Regions from separate parts of the Homo sapiens genome. Here region 2 is linked to region 1. Evidence: promoter capture Hi-C in 16 types of primary human blood cells and fetal thymus (Javierre and others, 2016). All regions are on one chromosome and are shown on one strand. Each heading gives the region's core, a stretch centred on a gene start or on the middle of the fragment in contact. The rest is flanking DNA. Distances are from core to core; before and after follow the strand shown.

Evidence for each region. Contacts are between HindIII fragments. The CHiCAGO score rates a contact against its expected background, and 5 or more counts as called.
Region 2: a fragment that was not itself captured here is called in contact with the fragment with the promoter of PCYOX1L in region 1 in 1 of 17 cell types (activated CD4 T cells); the score reaches 7.7 in activated CD4 T cells.

The regions. Positions count from the first base shown.
Region 1 is chr5:149,356,487-149,359,566 of GRCh38, reverse strand. PCYOX1L (prenylcysteine oxidase 1 like) reads right to left here and starts at 1,521. Exons shown (of 6, transcript NM_024028.4): 1 at 1,411-1,521. The coding sequence starts at 1,498. It overlaps GRPEL2-AS1 (GRPEL2 antisense RNA 1), which reads left to right and starts at 1,925. Exons shown (of 2, transcript NR_132366.1): 1 at 1,925-2,042. RefSeq lists silencers at 1,282-1,491, 1,512-1,671, 1,692-1,741 and an enhancer at 1,467-1,761. The HindIII fragment of the contact is 1,565 bases long and covers 283-1,847 here.
Region 2 is chr5:149,961,871-149,964,950 of GRCh38, reverse strand. The region is part of intron 1 of SLC26A2 (solute carrier family 26 member 2); the gene reads right to left. Among named protein-coding and RNA genes, the nearest start is that of SLC26A2, 2.7 kb to the right of the region's middle. The HindIII fragment of the contact is 1,313 bases long and covers 893-2,205 here.

The DNA of each region.
Region 1 (3,080 bases), core at 272-2,771:
CACAGCACACTCTGCTTACTCCTAGCCACACTGTATTCAAACGATCTAAGGACAGAGAGAGAACACATGGTCACTCATGGATACTGCCTGCCTAACTCTTCCACATCCTTCAATGCCTGGCTCAAACTCCACCTTCTCCATGAGGGCTTCTCTGGCTACTCTAGCCTCAGGATTCTCTTTTCTTGGCAAGCACTAAACTCTCAGTCTCAAACTGGTTTCTGGCATGCTTCAGTCTTCTTAACCCTGTATGGCCTGGGCTGTGGTTCTGCTACACAAGAAGCTTTAGCACTGCACTGGACCCTGTAAGTTTGTGATGCTTCTATCAGATGTTCCAGGCACTCCTGCCAACTGGGGTGCATGGAGAGTGGCCTAGCGGAATAGAGTCTTTGTCCTCCCACCCCGAAGCCCAGGATCTCTGCCTGTGGGAATATCACGTGTGAGGGACTTGAAAATCTTCACGAGTCATGTAGTTAAAATGACAGTTGTTGAGGGAGGAAAAAAAAAAGCAACTGTAAACACATATGACACTCTAGTCAATGATATGCACGATGACGTATTTAGTGAGGTGTCCTGATGTCTGCAATTTATTTGGAGATGCATCAAAATGTAGGCTGGATTCGTGGATGTCTAGAACAGTGCGTGATAGTTATGTGACACAGCAAGTATAGCAGCAGTTAATGGCAGAATGTAGGTGGTGGGTATACAGATGACCACTATAAAATTCTTGCTGTACATCTGAACATTTTCAAAATAAAGTATTGGGGAAACCACACACACAATAAACAAAAAGACTGTTGTTAAAAGTTCCCCGTTCTGTCAGCAAATCTCCAGCGGACCTAGTGTTCTGTCTCTGCCAGGACTGTCTCCTATCGACCTGGGGGTGGTTTGGCTTAGATGTTACTTCCAGGAAGCCCTCCCAGGGCCGCAAAGACAGGGTGAAGCGCCCCTCCTCTGCATGCACCGTACTTCCTCAGCTCAGCACGGACTTCCCTGTACTGTGAGGGCTCTACCCCAGCAGGAACTACAGCACCACGTCTGCTACACAGAGAGCCCTCAACCAACCTCTGTGAATGCCATCGCCCAGCCTCTCTGTCCTCTGTCACCCGGGCGCCTAGCCAACAGCCAGGACCATGGCAGATGCTCAGCGACCCTGGACCTCCCGGTGAGATCCGCGGCCAGTCCTGCCCAGGCCTCTTTTCCGTCCTAGGTGGCCCTCTTCACATGCCATGCCCCGGCCCCATCAGGACCTTCCCTGCCGCGTCCCCTTCGGCGCCTCTCCTCCACCCAGCTCCTTTTCCGAGGACCCCTCCCTCACCCAGCCGCCCTCCTATACCCCACCTAGCTGAGAACTGAGAACCCTTTACCCGCCGGCCCTCCCCAGCTGGGAACCCCACCGCGTCCTTCCCGCACCGATTTTGCCCGGCGGGGCATCTCCGCCAGCAGCGGCGGCGGCGAGGAGCGCGGTCAACGCGGCGAGCAGCGGGGCTGCGCGGGCCATGGCGGGCGGCGAGCGGGCAGCACGCCGGATTCAGGCGCTAGCGGGTTGGCGCTCGGCTCTCCGCCCCGCCCCGGCGCCCCACTGGCAGTCCCGCCTTCCTGCCGCGCCAGACCCAGCTCCGCATTGGCCAAGCCGCCGTCCCTCTCCAGCACGAGGCCCTCATTAGCTCCATCTCTCTCGGGGTAGGCTCTCTCATTGGCAGCTTCCCCGTTCCGCCCCGCCCCCCGCATGCGGGCTCCTCATTGGCTGGGTTCATTCTTGCCCGGCGCAGGTGTGCCCGCTTCGGGTCCTCAGCATCAGGACCAGGGCCCAGCTGCGGCAGAGGGATGAAACAGACCAAAGTGAAGCTTTGAAGACCTCGGTTATGTCCAGCCTCTGCGTTATTAGCTCTGTATCTTCTCTGTGTCTGTTTCCTCTATTATAACACAGACGAAGAATCCTGCTCCACCTTTCTAGGTGGTTGTAACCATCTTATGAGATAAGGGAAGCCTTTTGCAGTGTCTGCAAGTGCTGGAAATTGCTGACCAAGCATGCGGCCAGGGTGGTAAGACGCTACCTCATTCATATGCTGACACAAGCCCTATGCTTTCTATACTGCTGTTATTTATGTGTTTGCAGTTTTTATATAGTTAATATCTCTGCTTTCTGCTTCCTAAAAACCAAAAGGCGGGGGAAGGTTTCATCTACTCTCTTTTCAGAAAGGAGAAAAGGAGGGATAAACTCCCATTTTCATCCTCTAAGAAGACAAGAGCAGCAGCTCAGACTTGCTAGTTTATCACGCTGTGAAAAACAGACTTCCTCTGGCAGAAAATAAAGTTAGGGATGAGTTTCAGAATAAAGAAAATCCGGAGGCTGGGGGTGGCTCAAGCCTGTAATCCCAGCATTTTGGAAGGTCAGGCGGGAGGATCGCTTAGGCCAGCAGTTTGAGACCAGCCTGGGCAACATAATGAGACTCTGAGACCCCGTCTCTTAAAAAAAAAAAATTCGCCAGGAGTGGTGGTGCACACCTGTAGTCCTAGCTATTCAGGAGGCAGAGGTGGGAGGCTTGAGACCGGTAGTTTGAGGTTACAGTGTTCTATGATTGTGCCACTGCACTCCAGCCTGAGTGACAAGAGTCCCTGTCTTTAAAAATAAATAAATATATAAAAATAAATGAAATCCATATTTACTCAGTGAGATTATGGCTAAAATAAGAAACTGGGCCGGGCACAGTGGCTCATGCCTGTAATCCCAGCAGTTTGGGAGGCCGAGGTGGGCAGATCACTTGAGGTCAGGAGTTCGAGACCAGCTCGGCCATCATGGTGAAACCTCATCTCTGCTAAAATGCAAAAATTAGCTGGGCTTGGTGGTGTGCGCCTGTAATCCCAGCTACTCGGGAGGCTGGGGCAGGAGAATCGCTTGAACCTGGGAGGCACATGTTGCAGTGAGCCGAGATTGTACCACTGCACTCCACCGTGGGTGACAGAGCGAGACTCTGACTCAAACAAAAACAAAAACAAAAAACTGAAGTGATTCAGAGAATGGTGAAAGAGCTTATAGCTGGGGTTCTAACTCAGCACTGAGACTTAATTTACTTGGGCCA
Region 2 (3,080 bases), core at 300-2,799, 610 kb before region 1:
CAGGCATAGTTCAGCCTTAAACACTTTATTGAACCTACATTTAAAAAAAATTTTTATTTTGAAATAACTGTGGACTTGCAGAAAAGCTGTAAAAATAGTACACAGTTCCTGTATAATGGTCACTCAGTTTCCTCTAATATTGAACCTACATTTTTTTTTTAATTTTTTATTTTTGAGACAGAGTCTCACTCTGTTGCCCAGGCTGGAGTGCAGTGGCACAATCTTGGCTCACTGCAAGCTCCTCCTCCTGGGTTCATGCCATTCTCCTGCCTAAGCCTCCCAAGTAGCTGGGACTACAGGTGCCCGCCACCACACCTGGCTAATTTTTTGTATTTTTAGTAGAGACAGAGTTTCACCGTGTTAGCCAGGATGGTCTCGAGCTCCTGACCTCGTGATCCGCCCGCCTCGGCCTCCTAAAGTGCTAGGATTACAGGCGTGAGCCACCACGCCTGGCTATTTTTTATTTTTATTTTTGAGATGGGGTCTCACTCTGTTACCCAGGCTGGAGTGCAGTGGCATGATCTCAGCTCACTGCAACCTCCACCTCCTGGGCTCAAGCGATCCTGAGTAGCTGGGATCACAAGTGCACGCCACCATGCCCAGCTATTTTTTTGTATTTTTTGTAGAGACAGGTTTTCGCCGTGTTGTCCAGGCTGGTCTTGAACTCCTGAGCTCAAGTGATCTGCCTGCCACGGCCTCCCAAATTGCTGGGATTATAGGCATGAGCAAAGGAAGAGCCCAGCCTGAACCTACATTTTTAAAGCACTATGCCTCTTCTTCAAAAGAAGCATTCATTAGCAAGATGAGGTCAACCATTTGGATATGCTCCCCAAAAATCTGCACTGGCTCCCTATCTCCTACCAAATATGGTCTAAAAACATTGGTATAAGCTTCTATGCATGAGCCTAAAACTGCCACTGTCTTGCTTCCTCCTATGCACTAGTGTTCCAATCACCAGTCCATGAAAATATCAAGCAGCCTTTGCCCTTGGGGCCTTTGCTCATTGCCCAACCTCAAATGACACCTTATATAAATCGGTCCCTTCCTAGATACAATATATAAAACAGAGGCCAGGCACAGTGGTTCATGTCTGTAATCCCAGCGCTTTGAGAGGCCAAGGCAGGAAGATCACTTTGAGGCCAGGAGTTCGAGACCAGCCTGGGTAACATAGCAAGATCTTGTCTCCACAAAAAAAAAAAAAAAAAAAAAAAAGTTAAACAAATATGCAAAATAGCAGGCCGGGTGCAGGGGCTCATGCCTGTAATCCTAGCACTTTGGGGGGCCAAGGCAGGTGGATCACCTGAGGCCAGGAGTTCGAGACCAGCCTGGCCAACATGGTGAAACCCCCTCTCTACTAAAAAATACAAAAAATTAGGCCAGGCGCGGTGGCTCACGCTTGTAATCCCAGTACTTTGGGAGGCGGAGGCAGGCGGATCACGAGGTCATGAAATTGAGACCATCCTGGCCAACATGGTGAAACCCCGTCTCTACTAAAAATAAAAAGATTAGCCGGACGTGGTGGCACATGCCTGTGGTCCCAGCTACTCAGGAGGCTGAGGCAGGAGAATCACCTGAACCTGGGAGGCAGAGGTTGCAGTGAGCCAAGATCACGCCACTGCACTCCGGCCTGGAGACAAAGTGAGACTCTGTCTCAAAAAAAGAAAAAAAAAAAAATTAGCCAGGCGTGGTGGCATGTGCCTGTAATCCCAGCTACTTGGGAGGCTGACAAAGGAGAATCACTTGAACCCAGGAGGCAGAGATTGCAGTGAGCCAAGATGGCGCCACCGCACTCCAGCCTGGGCAACAAGAGTGAAACTCCATCTCAAAAAATAAATAAATAAATAAATAAATAAATAAATAAATAAATATAGCACCACTGCCATTGCTGCCATTTCCATGTCTTCCTCCTGGGCCCAGCCCTGCCTTGCACTCCTATGCCCTTTATTTTTCTCCATAGCTCTTCTCACCATTCCATACCACACATTGTTAATTGTCTTTCACATGAGGGCACTGACTTGCTCTGTTTTGTTCAAAGCTGTATTCTCAGTGTCTTGAACATGTCTTGCACCTAATAAATGCTTAGCAAGTATCTGTTGAGTGAATTAGAATTTAACAGCTATATGATAAGGAAAAAGGAGTTACTTTCCCCATTCTCACTTAACTCTCCAACCCCACTCTTCCGCCCCCACATGCCAAAACCAAGCTTATGTCAAGAAATTAAGCTTGGCAAGCATCTGCCTGGGGGTTTACATTCACTAAAAGCGTGATTATCCTTCTGTCAATCATGGGGGAAAATAAAAAATAAAAGTGTGGGCAGGGCACAGTGGCTCATGCCTGTAATCCCAGCACTTTGGAAGGCCAAGGCAGGAGGATTGCTTGAGCTCAGGAGTTTGAAACCTGACTGGGCAACATGGTGAAACACCATCTCTACAAAAACTACAAAAACTAGCCAGGTATGGCAGCGTGCACCTGTGGTTCCAGCTACTCAGGAAGCTGAGGTGGAAGGTTTGCTTGAACCCACGAGGTCAATGCTGCAGTGAGCCTAGATCGCGCCCCTGCACTCCTAGCCCGGATGACAGAGTAAGACCTGGTCTCAAAAAAAAAAAAAGTCAAATCAGAAATTAAAAAAAAGTGATTTTTTTCCCTCAAAAATTACCCCTAGCCCAGAGTATGTTCACCTCTAGATCTTCCCCTAGGAGGCAGCACATTACAGTACAATAATTGTCAAATACAGAGAGCCGTTAGCTTCTTAGGACCATCCCTGCAAATCCAAGGATGAGATCCAGGACTCCACACGCTAGATGATGCTGAACGAGTGAGCTTAGGACCACACTTGGAGAATCACTGGATGTGTTCTGGAAGTCAAACAGATCTCTGTTCAGATCCCAGCTATACTGCTCAGCAGTCATATGGCAATGGTTTTGTAAAACTTCACTGTACTCAGCATCAATTTCTGACCTGTAAAATGGGGTAACATTACCTAACTTGCTGGTTTGTAAGGCTAACACAACTACCTACCACAGTGCCTGGCACATAGCATTTACTCAATAAACGACAGCTATTAGTCTCTGTCCCTTGCT